3 separate regions of the Homo sapiens genome follow, and all the other regions are linked to region 2. Evidence: promoter capture Hi-C in 16 types of primary human blood cells and fetal thymus (Javierre and others, 2016). All regions are on one chromosome and are shown on one strand. The core of a region is centred on a gene start or on the middle of the fragment in contact, and the rest is flanking DNA. Distances in the headings are between cores, read along the strand shown.

What was found. The method cuts DNA at HindIII sites, captures the fragments that hold promoters and counts their contacts. A CHiCAGO score of 5 or more calls a contact.
Region 1: a contact is called between the fragment with the promoter of C12orf56 here and the fragment with the promoter of CNOT2 in region 2, in 1 of 17 cell types (total CD4 T cells). The highest score is 5.1, in total CD4 T cells.
Region 3: the fragment with the promoter of MON2 here is called in contact with the fragment with the promoter of CNOT2 in region 2 in 3 of 17 cell types (total B cells, non-activated CD4 T cells and total CD8 T cells); the score reaches 6.4 in total B cells.

What each region holds. Positions count from the first base shown.
Region 1 is chr12:64,389,495-64,392,194 of GRCh38, reverse strand. C12orf56 (chromosome 12 open reading frame 56) reads left to right here and starts at 1,437. Exons shown (of 13, transcript NM_001170633.2): 1 at 1,437-1,881. The coding sequence starts at 1,630. The HindIII fragment of the contact is 6,871 bases long and covers 1-2,700 here.
Region 2 is chr12:70,242,023-70,244,722 of GRCh38, reverse strand. It overlaps CNOT2 (CCR4-NOT transcription complex subunit 2), which reads right to left and starts at 1,290. Exons shown (of 16, transcript NM_014515.7): 1 at 1,243-1,290. It overlaps PRANCR (progenitor renewal associated non-coding RNA), which reads left to right and starts at 1,363. Exons shown (of 5, transcript NR_120460.1): 1 at 1,363-1,411; 2 at 1,830-1,899; 3 at 2,494-2,542. RefSeq lists enhancers at 561-700, 1,431-1,630, 805-2,004 and silencers at 1,001-1,260, 1,332-1,871. The HindIII fragment of the contact is 4,785 bases long and covers 530-2,700 here.
Region 3 is chr12:62,465,504-62,468,203 of GRCh38, reverse strand. MON2 (MON2 regulator of endosome-to-Golgi trafficking) reads right to left here and starts at 1,378. Exons shown (of 35, transcript NM_015026.3): 1 at 886-1,378. The coding sequence starts at 996. RefSeq lists enhancers at 722-1,221, 1,217-1,326 and a silencer at 1,357-1,676. The HindIII fragment of the contact is 1,301 bases long and covers 1,327-2,627 here.

The DNA.
Region 1 (2,700 bases), core at 188-2,687, 5.9 Mb after region 2:
TTGGGAGGCTGTGGCAGGAGAATGGCTTGAACCCAGGAGGCAGAGGCTGCAGTGAGCCGATATCATGCCACTGCACTCCAGCCTGGGTGACAGAGGGAGACTCTGTCTCAAAAAAAAAAAAAAAAAAAAAGTTTAGCCAGACCAAAACATTTCTCTTTCCCTTTGTACTAGTGTAGTCTACAATATCTGTTTATGGATTGTAATATATTTATACCTTCTTTCCACAAGGGATTTGAAGTTGCTTATAACATACAGTATACAATAATAAAATATGTAGAAAGGGAGAATATAAAGAATATATCAAATTTGATTCAGGGTTGCTGGCAGCCACAGCAATGAACGATATGGTTTCATTATCAGGTTTTTGGGTCAATGGGGAGGGGAAGAGAATAACTTTTCTAGGATTCGAAATAAAAAATGGAACTTCTGACTTAGAGCATTTCTGTTGTGCCCTTCTCATTTCTCTAACCTAATTAGTAAGTTATTCTTGGCCTGTAAAAACTAAGGAATACTTACTCCTCTGCAGCCTCAGGGTATGTAATCCGCATTCTTCAGTCTATCAGCTTCAACTTTTCAAGATGCCAGCATCACCCATTCATTCTTCCTGCATAGATTGTCCTGGGCATTGGAAACAAAACCATATGCCTTAGGTTGGTTTGGGTGTGCTCACATCAATTCATGTGAAGAATCCCTTTCTCAAAGGCTGGGCGAGGTGACTTAACGCCTGTAATCCCAGCACTTTGGGAGGCCGAGGCGGGCGGATTACCTGAGGTCGGGAGTTGGAGATCAGCTTGACCAACATGGAGAAACCCCGTTTTTACTAAAATATACAAAATTAGCTGGGCGTGGTGGCGCATGCCTGTAATTCCAGCTACTCAGGAGGCTGAGGTAGGAGAATCGCTTGAACCCGGGAGGGGGAGGTTGCGGTGAGCCGAGATGGCGCCATTGCACTCCAGCCTGGGCAACAAGAGCAAAGCTGCGTCTCAAAAAAAAAAAGAGAAAAGAAAAAAAAAATCCCTTTCTCACTGGTTGGAGAAAGAAGACCTATGTTTACACTCCGACAATATCAGAAAGCTGTGCCAGGCCATGTTATAACCAAAAGCTAAATCTGTGTGATTGGGTTTAATAGGTTTCTAGGGTTGTTAAAAATAAATCGGTAAATTAAACTCTTTCAAGTTTCTAACAGGAAACCAGATTGAAGCTGGCTTCCATTACCAATAAAGTTTGTATTGGATGGTGTGATCCGCAACAGAGTACGCAGTGGTGGGGACTGGCATTAGGGGTGGGCGGGAGAGACCCTAAAAATCCACCGCCCTTCGGCCGCAGGGGACTTCACGGTGATGAGCCCGAGGTGCCCATCAACTCGGGCCTGAAGGACCAGCGTCTTGCCCCGCCCATCGCCGTCTGAGGTTAGGACAAAGATCGAGAGGCTGGACAGGGCTGGGGAGGGCGCTCCAGGGAAGCCGACCTAGCGTCGATTCCTGCAGTTGCGGCCCGGGTCCCCGCGCCTGGAGAGGAGGCGACGCGTGGCCGGCGGCTTTGTGGCGCGCGGGTTCCAGCGCGGGGGCGGGGAGAGGGCGAGCTGAGGGCCTCGAGTCCCAGCACTCCGCCACGCTGCGGGCGCCGGGCATGGCCAGCCCCTTGCCGTCCGGCTTCCCCGCGCGCAGGAACAGCCGCCTGGATGTGTTCCTGCGGCGGCATCTGCCGCCCGAGGTCTACGACGCGGTCCGCGCCTACGAGCCATGCATCGTGGTGTCCAACTCTGAGAACCACATCCTCAAGTATGTGGTGCTAAGCGACCGGCTCGTCTACCTAACCGAGAACCCGCCCAAGTCCATCCGGCGGGTAGTGGCTCTGCGGGACGTCGTGGCCATTGACCTGGTGAGCGGCGCGGGTGGGCAGGCGGGCTCGGGAGCGCAGTGAGAACTCCCGGCTGGGGCCCCCAAACCCAGCCCTCCTGCGCGGGGAGGGCTGCCCCATCCTGCCCTCGACTCCCCTCCTCTTATTTGAGAACGAGGAACACAGGGAAGCTGTGGATTGCTGTGAGCACTCCTAATACAAACACGTCTCCCATTCTCCTCGTGTCTGCCTGTTCACCCATTCTCCCGCCTCCCCTACCCCACGTAGGGCTACAGGTTTGAGAACCGAGCTCCCTATCAAAAATACCTTTTAAAGTCATTCCTTTGTTAACAAAGCACCTAGTCAGTGCCAGGCACTGTGCTAGACTCGGAGGATGCAAAAACGAAAGAGGGCCCCTACCTAGAAGCAGTCGCTGGAGGGCTAGAAAGCCAACACCCGTGCAAATAAATGCTGTGTGTTAAGTGCTGTTATATCTCATTTACTTTTTTGCCCCCGATGCTTAGAGCATGTTAGATGCTCAATAAGAATAAATGCATAAGGCCGGGTGCCGTGGATCACGCCTATAATCCTTACACTTTGGGAGGCCAAGGTGGATAGATCACCGGGGGTCAGGGGTTCGAGACCAGGCTGGCCAACATGGTGAAACGCCGTCTCCACCAAAAGTACAAAAATTACCCAGGCGTGGTCGTGTGCACCTGTAATCCCAACTACTTGGGAGGCTGAGGCACAAGAATCGCTTGAACCTGGGAGGCGGAGGTTGCCGTGAGCCGAGATCGCCCCACCTGCACTCCAGCCTGAGCTACAGAATGAGTGAGACACCGTTCCCCTCCACCCCCTCCC
Region 2 (2,700 bases), core at 41-2,540:
ATTGCCCAAACGATTTTAAAAGGAGTGGGATTCTCTGACCAAGACTTTTATGAAAATGAAACAAAATATGTTGCACTCAGTCTTCCGGATGTTGAAAAGTGAAGATGTCTCCAAGGATTCGAAGGAAGTTGATGTTTAGGTTCCCTCTGAGAGGGTGGTACCCTTAATGTAAGACTTTTGTGGTAGTAATACCGTACCTACAGGCCTGGAATAAATATAAGGTCTAAAACCTTGGAAATACTTTGTATAAAAGAAAACTCCAATTCTCTTTTGCTAAGGACCACAGTTACCAAGAGTTATCAGCTTTCACCCGGACAGACAACAGTGCTTCAATGAAGAACTACAAAGGCCTCTTTTAACCCTACTCTTTTCTTCTGTTAAACTTTTAAGCGAGACCTACGACAGCAAAAGGTGGAGAGGCCCCTGCGGAAGTAGAAACCCAGGACTTGCAACTTCACAGACAGAAGCGTCTGTGGTTCCTCCGCCGCCCCAGGATCATCCGGACTCAGTCTACGACACTACGGAAGCTTCACCTTCCTGGTGCGGTGGCAGAGGCGGCATCGCAGTTGCATTCCTTCTCCCTCCACCATGCACAGCCTTCGGTATCCCAGGGCCTGCAGGATCCTGACACCCGTTAGCCAGTCCAGTGTCTCCCATCTGACACTTGCAAACACACTAACAGAAATACACATAACTGGCAGATGATATACGTGTATTGAGAGAAGGTAAGAAGCCACAGACAGCACCAGCTGCCGGGAAGGCGGCAGAGCCGTCTAAAGCGGGCTCGAGCTCGTCGGCCACGGCCACGGCCGCTGCCGCCTTCTCTTCTCCCCCAGGAAGCAGCGCGGCGGCAGCGGCTCCTCCGCGCTGGCGGGAGCCTAGGGGAGTGGAGTCTGGGGAAGCCCCACCACTCGCGGATGGGACCGGGCCTAGGATCTGGAGCTGCTGCTGCTGCAGCGGCCCGAGTACAGCGACGCTTTACGTCCGGTCCACCACCACCCCCATACACACCCCCTCCCTCCCTCCACCGCCGCCACCCCCCTCCCCGCCCGCTCCGCTCTCCGTCTCTCGATTGGAGCCGAGACAAAAGCAACGGGAAGCGGTGGGCCGGGACGCTACCGGCGGACCCTGGGCGCGACCGGACCGGCCCCGGGGCATTCCCCCGCCTTGCGGGGGCCCCGAATCTGCCGCCCCCGCCGCGCGCCCCGCTGCCAGACTTCCGAAAATTTACCAAAAACTCACCGCATGAATTTTCTTGTCCCGCGGATCCAAGATGGCGACGTATCCACCGCGGAGGCTGCTGGGAGCAAGACCTTTACCCTCTGACCGCCGCCGTGACCCCCGTCGCTCCGGCTTCCCTCCAGGCGGCAGCGGAAGGTGGGAGCGACGACTGCAAAACGGCAGCGATGGGGTGGGTAGGCAGGCCGCTTTCAGCGCGCTTCTAACAAGGTGGAGAGAGGCGCTTCACTTCCCTACCGCCCTTACCGCCGCTCCGTCTTGTCTCCCACCGACTCACAGGGAGGCTTGCTGCTCCTCCGCGGCCGTTACAGAGAGCGGGGCTTCTGCGGCCGCTACCGTTTCCCTGGGGCTAGGTTGCTTCGCAGAAGGCTCTGGCCCTGAGTCCGAGGGGGACTGCGGGGTCCAGGGGCGATGAATGGTGAGGTGGCTTCAGTCCGCCCTCCCCGGGGACGCTGAGCGTGTTCGTGTTCGTGTTTGTGTTTGTGTTTGTGTTGGACACCCCCGCCCCCGCACGTCCGCCTCGTCACTCCTCCCCTCCTCACTCCCGCCACCTGGAGCGAATCTGATCGTGTCCCTGTTTCCTCCCTCAGCTCCCGCAACCTCCGGAGCTTGTGCGCGTACTTCAGGGACCGGCACCACGTCACCGTCACCTCCTGAGTAGTGAGTTCCCCTCTGATGAAACCACTGGTGTGTTTACTCACCATCCCCACCATTTTTTTTTCCCCAACCTGATGGAAGGAAGTACATAATGGAGAGCAAGTTTTTAAAGCACGGTCGTGTCGTGTGAACTTGCTCTAGCCAAATTAGGTTTATAGCACTTTTTTTGGCTCTCATTACCTCCAGTCCCCACATAAACAAGAGTGACCAGCTGGGTCATCCGCAAGACCGTTTGAAATTATTGTGGCTTGGGTGGAAACTTAAAGGAGTGAAGTATCTGCTTTCCAGAAAAATCGTTGTCATTCAAAGTGAAATTAAACTTGTTTTCTTTGCAATAATTCGCCTTTATTTCCTTGTATATCTGTAAACTCTTCACTTTTTTGTAATTACTAGACAATTCGGACTTAAAAAGAGCCTCAGCATGTGTATTTTGGAATTGTGTAGCTTCATAATGTGAAAATTATTCTTTTCTATTTGAGTAAAGTACAGTTAATTTGAAGTAAATAAAATTTCTATTTCCATTGGTTGTTTCTTTTAAAAAGTCACCTTTTACTTACAAAAGAATCACTGTAATCCAGTTTACATTTATCATTGAAGGTCAAAAGCAAGAAATAGGAAGAAACACAAGCATACTATAAAATAAAAGGTAACTGTCATGTTTTTGAAGGTAAGGTGTTTTGACATATCAGCAGACATTGTGTGAATTTATTTCAACTCCTAGTGGTACTGGTGTAGGTAGAAAATGTTTTGCTTGGTTATTCATTTCATCAAACACTCTACTTCACTGTTTTTTTTTCACTTCAG
Region 3 (2,700 bases), core at 129-2,628, 7.8 Mb after region 2:
TTAGCCGGGCCTGTTTTTGGTGGGTTTTTTTGTTTGTTTTTTTTTTTTAGAGAATTAAAATGGCATTTTAAGAGAAAAAGCAAATAGTAACCAAATGTTAAATATTTCACCTCAAGAACTATTTGGAGAATTAAATTTCCATGTATTATTTACTGGGATCTCTTTAATAATACCCTTCTGCTCTGACATCTTTCCCATACATAATATAAAACCATCCTTTAACCCTATTTTACAGCTGGAAAAAAAAACCCGAAGCTCAAAGAGGTTAAGATTTATTGCTGGAACTAAATTCAGGTGTATTCGCTCTGACTGCAAGCCCAACTTCCCACTACAGTACTGCTCATAACAAGGTTTAACATGATTATGTGGATCTTCAATATTCTTCATAAATTAGGTGGCTCTGGATAGTTTATTAACACGTCAAAGGATTGATACAGAGTTAAGCTGAATGATATATACCAGAAGGAAAATTGTTTCCAATTCAGTGATATGCCATAAACGTGAGGAGTACAGGTTTCAACAAGATGGGTGGATACTCGTTTCGGGGAGCAACAAACAAGTTTTTCAATTTTGGTTTGGCCAGTTTCAAGTAAGAAAAAGGCCAGAATAGGCTAGTGCACAGTACACCTAGCTGGATTAACTGAATAGGCTCACTTCATGAACTTCACTCCTAAACTGGGAGGACAGGAGAGGGGAGAAAATCAAAGTGCCTCAGCCCTCTCCAGTGGAAACTATAAAAAGCCCTTGTGGAACAACCCACCGACTCACAAATCTGGAAAGGTGAGGCCTGAATGAAAATTAGGACTGGAAACTGGGGTGAAGCACTGAGTCTAACAGGACCAGGCATGCTCACAGTGCCTTCTCCTGACGTCACCTGAAGCTTACCTCTTTGACAGGTGGGAATTTCTTCTTGCACTCCAGTGACAAGGCGCGCAAGTCGCTCTGCATATTCTCCAGCAGCTTCTTCACCGCCTCGGGGCTGCTGGTGCCGGACATGATCCTCCAAGGTCCCAGCCAATTTCCGAGAGGTACAAACAAGCTCTGGCACGGTCAGCTCCTTAGGGCCACAGGCAGCTCCCTCCCGGTGTCTCTGGTCCTTCAGCAGCCCGCTTCTTGGGCCCTGGGCTGCGAACCCGGAGCCTGCTCGAGCGTCCCCCAGCAGCTTCCCCGCAACACCTCTGGCTTTTCTCGGAGGCGCCCCCCGCAGTCGCACCGTCCCGCTAGGCTCCGCCGACTCTGGCCGAGAAACCCACAAGGCGGGCAGGTCCCTCCGCTGCCGCGGGGCCCAGCCACACCGGGTGTCACCAGCCAACCTGGCAAGAAGCTTCAGCGCCAGCTCCCCAGGCCCCTAAGACTCGCCGACGCCATTAGCCGAGTCGCCCACAATTCCGAGCGCTGCCGGGACACGTCAGCCGCACTTCCGGGTACCGTGGCCTCCGCCACCGCCGCGGCCAACCCCGGCGGCAGGCCGTCGGCGGGGCGGGGCTGGGGCTTGGCCATGCTCGGGGCAGGCGGGATTCCGGGTGGGCAGCGATTCCCACAGCCCCACCCCCGGAATCAAGTAGGCTAGACAGGGTTTAAGGCGTCAAGATTCGCTTCGTTTTCATTAACAAGTGCCTGAACAGAGCCCCCGAGTACTCCTTGGCATATCTCTTTGCGTATGTTTGTGTTAAATTGTATTTCGGTGTAAATAATTTGTTTCCCTGTAGATTAATCTTAACGTGTCTCCTCCCGCTTCATTTCGAATCTCTGGACTAGTGGCCCCAAATCAGTGGCTACCTCCTGTTAATATACATTTTTTTTCTTTAAACGCAACTGGTGCACTTACTGTGGGGTAGCCTCTTATTTTCCTAATCTCTAAAATGAGACTACCCTCTGCTCCACGCATTCCGCTGGCCTCCCATCTCACTCAAAGTAAAAGCCAAAATTCCTCCAATCACCTACCAGGCGCTACGAGATCTGTCCCGGCCCCTTTACTGGCAGATGCTCCCAGCTAAAAGGAGAGTTTCGCGAGTTGGGCTGCCGGTTCTTCCTCTTTTTAAATCTTATTTTGTTTCCTGTGTATCTCCAGCACCTAGAACAGTGTCTGGCATATAGCAGGTAATCAGTACATACTTGTTGAATGAATACCCTTCTATTATAAAATCAGAGTTTCGAGGCTCAAATAAGGCACAGATACATAAAAGCCTTCATCAGGTCTGAAGTGCCAAATAAATATGAGGCAAAAGCCAAACAGAAAAATCTTCATCTGTATTTCCCCAAGATCCAGGTTGGTCTACTTTTTCCCCAAGACATTTTGCAGCTGCTGGTCAGAAAGCAGAAAATGAGGGAGGAAAAACCAGAAACAGTAGAGATGAAGAAACCAACACCTTCAGACAGCTGAGCTTATGACATGATGGAAGACAGTGAGCCATGAGATTGTCAGTGGATAGCGCTGTTTGGCTGTAACAGAGCTACTTTGTAAGCTAAATAATTTTATTTTATTTTTCCTTCTGATAAGAAGCAAAGCAAGGATGGATAAAGGGGACAGATGAGGTAATAGTAGAGAGCTCCTAGGGCAGTAATTTTGATCATTTGTGCCTATTACACAACTTCTGGGAAACTTGACACCTCCTATGGTATAAGCTTTATGTATGAAAACTGGTGAATTTAGCAAAAAAGTTCAAATGGAATATATGGCAGACATTATTCTTGAGGTCT